Linked DNA regions of Homo sapiens: all the other regions are linked to region 1. The links are contacts of gene promoters, found by promoter capture Hi-C in blood cells and fetal thymus (Javierre and others, 2016). All regions are on one chromosome and are shown on one strand. Each heading gives the region's core, a stretch centred on a gene start or on the middle of the fragment in contact. The rest is flanking DNA. Distances are from core to core; before and after follow the strand shown.

Region 1 (3,153 bases), core at 369-2,868:
TGCCAGCACGCTGTCACCTCTCATTTTTGTGTCTGTATACTAACATATATATAGAAAAAAATATTCGGCCCGGTGCGGTGGCTCACGCCTGTAATCCCGGAACTTTGGGAGGCCAAGGTGGGCGGATCACGAGGTCAGGAGATCAAGACCATCCTGGCTAACACGGTGAAACCCGGTCTCTACTAAAAATACAAAAAATTAGCTGGGCATGGTGGTGGGCGCCTGTAGTCCCAGCTACTCGGGAGGCTGAGGCAGGAGACTGGCATGAACCCGGGAGGCGGAGCTTGCAGTGAGCAGAGATGGAGCCACTGCACTCCAGCCTGGGTGGCACAGTGAGACTCCGTCTCAAAAAAAAAACCACGTCTCTAAAAAAGAAATAAGGCCGGACGTGGTGGCTCATGCCTGTAATCCTAGCACTTTGGGAGACCTAGGTGGGCAGATCGCTTGAGCTCAGGAGTTCAAGACCAGTCTGGGCAACATGGTAAAACCCTGTCTCTAAAAAAAAATGCAAATATACAAAAATTAGCTGGGCATGGTGGTGCATGCCTGTAGTCCCTCCCAGCTACTTAGGGAGCTGAAGCAGGAGGATCACTTTTACCTGGGAGGTCGAGGCTACAGTGAGCTGAGATGGTGCCACTGCACTCCAGTGAGACCCTGTCTCAAAAAAAAATTTGTTTTAATAAAATAAAAAATAACAATTAGCCATGCATGGTGGCACTGCACCTATAGTCTCAGCTACTTGGGAGGTGGAGGAAGGAGGATCGCTTGAGCTCAGAAGTTCAAGGCTGCAGCAAGCTATGATCAAGGCTGCAGCAAGCTATGATCACCCCACTGCAACTCCAGCCTGGGTGACAGATACTCTGTCTCTTGGAGAAGGAAAAAAAGCTAAAATAATGATCCCCAACAAAAATTGTTCTTAAATTTCATTTTCGGGGCCGGGCACGGTGGCTCACGCCTGTAATCCCAGCACTTTGGGAGGTCGAGGCAGGAGGATCACTTGAGGTCAGGAGTTCAAGGCCAGCCTGGCCAACATGGTAAAACCCCATCTCTACTGAAAATACAAAAATTAGCTGGGCATGGTGGCGGGCACCTGTAATCCCAGCTACTCGGGAGGCTGAGGCAGGAAAATGGCTTGAACCCGGGACGTGGAGGTTGCAGTGAGCCGAGACTGCATCATTGCACTCCAGCCTGGGCAACAAGACCCAAACTCCGTCTCAAAACTGAAATGAGATGAAATGAAATAATGAAATGAAATGAAATGAAATGAAATGAAATGAAATACCTATAGGGAATCTTTCTGTCCATCAAACCAGACAGACCGAATTAACTCTTCTGAGTCGCAGCTTAGAATATTTGACCTGCCTAGGAGCTGGGCACAAGCCGGCAGCTAACCGCCACGTGGGCCTGGGTAGGAGGTGAGATCAGGAAGATCCCTGGGCCCCTACTAGTTCCCTGCCTGGCCTCCTCCCCCACTCGTGTGGGGGTCTACGGAGCCAGCGCTGGGGGTGGAAGGGCGAGGAGTCCTCGACGCTGCAGCGGCGGTTCCGGCCCATGGGGGCGCTCTCCTGCTTGGGGGCGGAAAAGCCGTGGCGCCCCCTTGCGTGGCGCGTCGGTCTCAGAGTCGCGTGACTTCAACCCCCTCTTCGGGAGGCTGGGTCGTCATGATCCGGACCCCATTGTCGGCCTCTGCCCATCGCCTGCTCCTCCCAGGCTCCCGCGGCCGACCCCCGCGCAACATGCAGCCCACGGGCCGCGAGGGTTCCCGCGCGCTCAGCCGGCGGTATCTGCGGCGTCTGCTGCTCCTGCTACTGCTGCTGCTGCTGCGGCAGCCCGTAACCCGCGCGGAGACCACGCCGGGCGCCCCCAGAGCCCTCTCCACGCTGGGCTCCCCCAGCCTCTTCACCACGCCGGGTGTCCCCAGCGCCCTCACTACCCCAGGCCTCACTACGCCAGGCACCCCCAAAACCCTGGACCTTCGGGGTCGCGCGCAGGCCCTGATGCGGAGTTTCCCACTCGTGGACGGGTATGTAGGTGCAGCGTTTGGGCAACGCGGGGTGAGCACACCCTTGGGCAGGAGAGGAGGTTCTGAGCATGCTATCAAGGAGGCTATCAAGGAGGCTCCCTCACACCACCCCTGGATGCCCTCTCTCCTCCATCACCCATGGGTGCCCTTCCCCGCATTACTCCATTCCTGGTGGAATCTAACCCCCTCCCTCCAACCCAACCTCAGGAGGTCTCTATATGGTCTGTGTGAGGAGGTGCCTGGTGGGGTGGAGGAGGGTAGACCCAAGCACCTGATATATCCTGACTGATCTGGAGGCGGTGTTTCCATCTGACCTTCACACCCCCAGCCACAATGACCTGCCCCAGGTCCTGAGACAGCGTTACAAGAATGTGCTTCAGGATGTTAACCTGCGAAATTTCAGCCATGGTCAGACCAGCCTGGACAGGCTTAGAGACGGCCTCGTGGGTGCCCAGGTACCACAGGGACACACAGGGTGCCACAGCATGGCTGCTGGGGGATGTTGGGGTCACAGAAACCTGGGTCAGCCAGCCTCTGGGTGACTAAATACAATGGGGCATGCAGTGTGCCATCATGTGGTTTCTAAGGAGAGTGGGGCCTTGGAGGCCAAGACAGGCTAGCTGCATGTATGCCCAGGTTCTGTGGAAACACGCAGAAAATGACCAGAAAATCCCTGGTGAGTGTGGGGTCTGCCGTAACCACAAAGGACATAGTGGATTGGCCTTGGGGCATTCACATAGCACATGGACTAACAGCAGTTTTTTGCTTGTTTGTTTGTTTGCATTTTTGAGACAGTGTCTCCTTCTGTCGCCCAGGCTGGAGTACAGTGGCACGATCTCGGTTCACTGCAACCTCCGCCTCCCGGGTTCAAGCAATTCTCCCTGCCTCAGCCTCCTGAGTAGCTGGGATTACAGGCACTCGCCACCACGCCCTGCTAATTTTTGTAGTTTTAGTAGAGACAGGGTTTTACCATGTTGGCCAGGCTGGTCTCGAACTCCTGACCTCACATGATCCACCCTCCTCGGCCTCCCACAGTGTGGAGATTACAGGCATGAGCCACTTGGCCTGGCCGTAACAGTAATTTATGATGTGTCGTGAGTCCATCATTTGACTGCTGGCAGCAAACAGTC
Region 2 (3,116 bases), core at 602-3,101, 360 kb before region 1:
GCTGGAATTACAGGCACGCACCACCACATCCGGGTAATTTTTGTATTTTTAGTAGAAGTGGGGTTTCTCCATGTTGGCCAGGCTGGTCTCGAACTCCTGACCTCAAATGATCCACCCACCTGGGGCTCCCAAAGTGTTGGGATTACAGGCGTGAGCCACCACACCCAGCTGGTTAATACTTTAAATGATAACCGTCCTTCCCCAAAATTAAACTTAAACTGAATGAAAGATCATCAGGTTAGGAGGATGAGAGGAGGCTGAATTCTGCTAAGGTGAAGCCATTGTTAGGTCACAAGATCTGCAACCTTCCCTGATTCCTCCTGCAGATAACACCACCTTGCAGAAACTAAGATTGACCCTTTGAAATGTCTTTTCGGGTTTTTACGTTTCTGTCTGATGACTCCACCCAGAAGTGGACTCCCTCGCCTGCCAAACTATCCTTGAAAAACCCTAGCCTGAGCCGGGCATAGCGGCTCACGCCTGTAATCCCAGCACTTTGGGAGGCCGGTGGGGCAGGTCACCTGAGGTCGGGAATTTGAGACCAGCCTGGCCAACGTGGAGAAACCCCATCTCTACTAAAAATACAAAATTAGCCAGGCATGGTGGCGCATGCCCGTAATCCCAGCTACTCAGGGGGCTGAGGCAGGAGAATTGCTTGAACCCGGGAGGTAGAGGTTGCAGTGAGCTGAGATCGCGCCATTGCACTCCAGCCTGACCAACAAGAACGAAACTCCATCTCAAAACAAACAAACAAAAAACCGTAGCCTGTGAATTTTCAGGGAGACTGATTTGAGTAACAAATCTCTCCCCCACGTGGTGTGGCTGGCTTCGTGTCAATTAAAGTCTTTATTGCAATGCCATGGTGTCAGCGAATTGGTTTTGTCTGAACAGTGGGTGGGAAGAACCCATCAGGCAATTCCGACACACCTTTCCCACTTTCTTTTCCTTTGAGTGTGAGAGTGAGAGAGGGTGGATGGGGGTGTAAATAACACAAGCACATGAGAGAAAATTCAAAAGGTATACAAGGACGCATAGTAAAAAATATGTTTCCTTTCCACCCCTAACCTCCAGTCCCCATTCCCAGATGCAGTCAGTTTTACGAATTTCTGGGAATTCTTCCAAAGACCTCCTTATATGTACACCACACATGACTATCCACTCACAAACACATATATTCCTATTTTTACTAACACCAGTGCTGCCACACAACACACCATTCTGCACCTTTATTTTTGTGTCAGGTAATAATCCACCCTGAAGCTTGTCCCACATCAGTGCACAGAGAGCTACCTCACCCACTGAAAGGATAATGGACTTGATCCCTGCTAGTGGCCTTTAGGTTGGCCTTTTTCTACTAAACCAGGGCTGCACACATCTATTCTGCACAGACGCAAATCCAGCCACAGCCCCATGTCTGAAAGCAGCATTGCTTTCTACCTGAAACGTTCTGATGACTCGCTTTCCTGCTTTTTCCCTGAGCTTCCCCAACAGTGTGCTTGCAAACTGTTTAAACTTTATTCACTAGTAGGTGAAAATGAGATCTCATTGCAGTTTAAAGTTGCATTTCTCTTTTTTTTTTTTTTTAGAGACAGGTTCTCATCTTATTGCCCAGGCGGGAGTGCAGTAATGCAGTCCCGACTCACTGCAGCCTCAACTTCCTGGGTTCAAGCAACCCTCCTGCCTCAGTCTCCTGAGAGGCTGGGAGCATAGGTGCTGTGAGCAGCTAAAACTGCATTTCTCTTATTATGAGGGACAGTGGGCAACTATCCCCATCATCTGTATTTCCTTTTCTGTGTTTCATGTCCTCTGCCTACTTTCTATCGGGGTGGAGAAAGGAGATTTTGAGGCCACAGAAGGTGAGGCTGTAGTTCTCTATTCCAAGCTGATGGGAGCCCCCTGGGATTACTCAGGGGATGAGGGGTGGTATCTAAGGGTGGCTGCATCATGATGAGGCGGGAGAGGAAAGCCAACTTCTCTGTTCCTCACTGTGTCCATGAGTGCTCACCATGAGCTCACCCTGGGAAGGCTACGTTACTACAGCTAGCCTTTGCTTGCTTTTTAAAAACTTTTGTCTTTGATTCTGACACAGCCCTCCTGTCTCTAAATTCTCCTGGGTCCAAGGCTCAACTGTTACTTTCCCATGAACAGCAGTGGACAAGTTTCCTGACAGGGCACATGCTAGGCTCCTGCCTCTTACCTGCATCTCCTCTGGGTCTGAGTGTGCCCAGAAGGGGGCCATGGTGCACTTGATCTTCCCCTCAGGGTCCATTTCAATGTCCCACCACGAGAGAACCACCTGAGCTCGGCCAGATGTCAGAGGTTCAAACCGCCTGCTATGGCAGGCTGCTGAGCTACTGACTTGCTTGCTGAAGTCTATGCTGAGGAATAATATTCAAGAATGTAAGCAGAGTTTAACCTCACACACTCCATTTTTTAAGCTTTTACAGTGACTTCACTGGCAATGACATTTGGCTGCAAAGGACTCTTGCCTTCGAGGCAGGTGACAGCAGCTAGATTTCCTTCCCACTCAAAAAGAACCTCCTAATACCCAACTTCCATCAAATGTCTCAAAGCGCCATCACCTATGGTGGCTCCTTGGTACCTGAACATGGGCAGCACATCGCTGAGGACTGTAAAGTCGGCTGGTGACACCTGGTTCAGCTGAATGTCACAGACAGAGGGTGCGCCAGGGCAGCTCTCCACGTCAACGGGAGGGACGATGACCTGCTCTCCGAGGCTGGTCTGCACGTGGATGGGAAATAGCTTGTTCCACGACCACATCCTCCCGGACTCCACCAGCTGTGCATAGACGGTGGCTCTGTGGGGCACGGCCTCACAATTTTCCTAAGTTTATATTAAAAACAAAACCAAACAAAAATCAGATGCTTAGACCCACAGTAATTCCCATTGATCAAAAGAGGTTTATTCCTTAACATTAGGTTGGTTCAGTAATGCCCAACACCTTATACTATTAGAATAGTGAACTGTTTTCAGCCCTATGCCCTTGGAAAAGGGAAAAAAAGGGTACTACATTTCAAAAAGAACACACACTGTGCCTAAAATGACTTCTGTCAGCTAAGTTCCTGGCTACCTGGCACTCTTAAATGCTTCACGTC
Region 3 (3,268 bases), core at 287-2,786, 470 kb after region 1:
ACTATGTGTGTTTCCAGATTGAAACGGCCTGTCCCAGGGTGGCTAGCTGTCACAGAGCAAAGGGTCTCAAACCTTTTGGTCTCATGACGTCTTTTCACTCTTCAGTATTTTTGAGGATTCTAAAGAATTTTGTTCATGTTGGTTATATCTATTATGAAAGGAAAATAAAATCTTGGGACCCCAAACTCATTATGTCAAAGGGAAAGTTAAGCTTGGGAACCACAAAAACTGCCTTCCTTTCCCAAACGGACAGCTGTAATTTCACAGGCTTAGTTATGTAAAATGTAGATCTACTAAGCCCGAGACAATGCATAGTTGACTCCCCCGACCCCTTTTCACATATAAAATGTAGAGTCACTGAGCTGCTAATCACAGCCTCACAACAATGTCACCACTTGCCGCCCTGCCTACCCTCCTGCCCGCTTTTTTCCCCTTTCCTCCCTCCCCTCCTGCTGCCTCTTTCCTCTTTGGAAAAAGCACAGGACACAGATCGTACTGTGACTTGTGTCTCTTTTTCCCCGGGCGTGTCCTCAACCTTGGCAAGATAAACCTCTAAATTGATTGAGATGCCTCAGTCACTTTTTGGTTCACACCATTAATATTTACCATGTGAGAAATTAAAACAGAGAAAATGTTTACATGTTTATTAATTTATTTAAAATGATATCATGAAACCATTACATGTTAACACAACTTTTTTTTTTTTTGAGAAGGTGAAGGTGTCTTGCTCTGTTGCCCAGGCTGGAGTGCAGTGGTGCGATCTTGGCTCACTGCAACCTGCCCCTCCCAGGTGCAAGCAATTCTTCTGCTTCAGCCTCTCAAGTAGCTGGGATTATAGGCGCATGCCACCAAGCCCAGTTATTTTTTTTTTTTTTTTTTGAGACGGAGTCTTGCTGTCGCCCAGGCTGGAGTGCAGTGGCGCGATCTCTGCTCACTGCAGGCTCTGCCCGCTGGGTTCACGCCATTCTCCTGCCTCAGCCTCCTGAGCAGCTGGGACTACAGGCGCCCGCCACCTCGCCCAGCTAATTTTTTGTATTTTTAGTAGAGATGGGGTTTCACCATGTTAGCCAGGATGGTCTCGATCTCCTGACCTCATGATCCGCCCGCCTTGGCCTCCCAAAGTGCTGGGATTACAGGCGTGAGCCACCGCGCTCAGCCAGCCCAGCTAATTTTTATATTGTTAGTAGAGATGGGGTTTCATTATGTTGGTCAGGCTGGTCTCGAACTCCTGATCTCAAGTGATCCTCCCACCTCAGTCTCCCAGCGTTGAGATTACAGGCATGAGCCACTGTGCCCAGCCAACACAACATACTTTTAATGAAAAATAACTACATTTTTCCAAACCAAAAAGAAAGTGAAAACAGTGGTATTGTTTTGTATTTTTTGCAAATCTCTTCAATGTCTGGTTTAATATTCTGGTTTAATTCCCATATCTGCTTCTATACTCAACCTGTTTCAACATCACATGTCACAAACAGCCAGGCGCAGTGGCTCACACCTATAATCCCAGCACTTTGGGAGGTGAAGGCGGGAGGATCACTTGAGGCCAGGAGTTGGAAGACCAGTCTGGGCAACATAGCAAGACCCCTCTGTCAGTATAAAAAACAAAATAAAAAAACACATGTCATGTAGCCTCTGGAAAATCCCACTGTACACTCATGAAAGACAAATAATATCTTTTTTTTTTTTTTTGAGACAGTGTCTTGCTCCATCACCCAGGCTGGAGTGCAGTGGTGAGATTTCAGCTCACTGCAATCTCTGCCTCCCGGATTCAAGCAATTCTCCTGCCTCAGCCTCCTCCTGAGTAGCTGGGATTACAGGCATGCATCACCACACCCAGGTAATTTTTGTATTTTTAGTAGAGACTGGGTTTCACCATGTTGGCCAGGCTGGTCTGAAACTCCTGACCTCATTATCCATTTGCCTTGGCCTCCCAAAGTGCTGAGATTATAGGCGTGAGCCACCGTGCCCAGCTGACAAATAACATCTTAATATTACCGTGAACCTAGTGTAGACTTTATGGATACTTCAAAAGGACCGCACTTTGGAAACCACAGAGTTAAACAATATCAAGTCTCATTGGCTTCATGCAATAAAAATGTACTCCAATGAAGACTGGCCAGCTTCCCATGGAGAGCTGGCTTTTTCCATCATGCTGTAAATTATACCATCTGGAATGCGTGGTTTCCAAGTTTACTGAGAGAGAGAAGGGGGCTGGTGAATCAGGTGGGATGCTTTTAAGGGTAGGGCCTGAGCCAGGCACACTGGCTCATGCCTATATGACATCAGCTATTAGGGAGGCTGAGGTGGGAGGATTGTTTGAGCACAGGAGGTTGAGGCTGCAGTGAGTCATGATCACAGCACTGCACTCCAGCCTGGGTGACAGAACAAGACTCAGACCTTTAAATAAAAAAAAGACTAGGGCCTAGAGGTGGGGCATGTCACTGGAAATGTCATCTTCCTGTGTGTCCAGGAAGAGAATTGGGTGTGGTGAACACTTAGCATCTGCTCCACCCCTGGGGTGATCGTGGCGCTCACATGATCCTGTGACCGGAAGCCTCCACAGGGTCACTTCATGAACATTTCTCATGTTTCTGCAGCATTTTCAAACAGTTGCCCTGTTAGTGACAGCAGTTATAACAGGTGACTTTGACTTCGAGCATTTGTCCCATTCAAATTAATTTTTCTATTTTAATTATAAAAGTAATACATGTTCACACACACAAAGCATCATTTCAATGATCAGAAGGACAAAAGAGAAAGATAAACATTACACCCCATGGAACCTCCTTGAACTGTGTCACCACCCGCGAGAAGCATAGTGAATTCTCTCAAAAAGTTTCTTTGCATCTCTAAGCTTACATCTACATCTATTTTTTGGAATGCAGTTGGGGTCATATTATGCATACTGTTCTATAAATCCGGAAGGAGGGGCATTAAGTAGACAAGATGATATGCAGAAGCAGATGGAAGGTAGAAAAACTCCTCTGCATGAATTCAGGGCTCCCTCTGGCTGAAAGAAGAAAAAGAAGAGCGTGGCTGGGGATGTGGCCGTAGAGCAATGACAGTCAGGCCTAGCCTCCCAGCAGCACGCAGGAGAGGCAGCCAGACCCCCAGATGGACTGCCCAGTCCTCACAGGCAGATAGGGTGTGGACAGCCTCACAAAAATGCCTGGGTCCCCAGCACTGCAGAGTCTTCAGCAAGTTGCTGGGCCTAGAGTCGTGACGACTAGGCATGGTGGCCTTCTCAGTGGTCATCTGTGAGGAC

What was found. Contacts are between HindIII fragments. The CHiCAGO score rates a contact against its expected background, and 5 or more counts as called.
Region 2: a contact is called between a fragment that was not itself captured here and the fragment with the promoter of DPEP3 in region 1, in 1 of 17 cell types (fetal thymus). The highest score is 5.3, in fetal thymus.
Region 3: a fragment that was not itself captured here is called in contact with the fragment with the promoter of DPEP3 in region 1 in 1 of 17 cell types (naive B cells); the score reaches 5.1 in naive B cells.

The regions. Positions count from the first base shown.
Region 1 is chr16:67,978,964-67,982,116 of GRCh38, reverse strand. DPEP3 (dipeptidase 3) reads left to right here and starts at 1,618. Exons shown (of 10, transcript NM_001370198.1): 1 at 1,618-2,023; 2 at 2,352-2,478. The coding sequence starts at 1,737. RefSeq lists an enhancer at 1,794-2,294. The HindIII fragment of the contact is 6,110 bases long and covers 1-3,153 here.
Region 2 is chr16:68,339,050-68,342,165 of GRCh38, reverse strand. PRMT7 (protein arginine methyltransferase 7) reads right to left here. Exons shown (of 19, transcript NM_019023.5): 8 at 2,603-2,844; 9 at 2,198-2,378. Among named protein-coding and RNA genes, the nearest start is that of PRMT7, 30 kb to the right of the region's middle. The HindIII fragment of the contact is 1,178 bases long and covers 1,263-2,440 here.
Region 3 is chr16:67,503,770-67,507,037 of GRCh38, reverse strand. ATP6V0D1-DT (ATP6V0D1 divergent transcript) reads right to left here. Exons shown (of 4, transcript NR_184227.1): 4 at 635-3,013. Among named protein-coding and RNA genes, the nearest start is that of AGRP, 22 kb to the right of the region's middle. RefSeq lists an enhancer at 2,201-2,310. The HindIII fragment of the contact is 2,646 bases long and covers 214-2,859 here.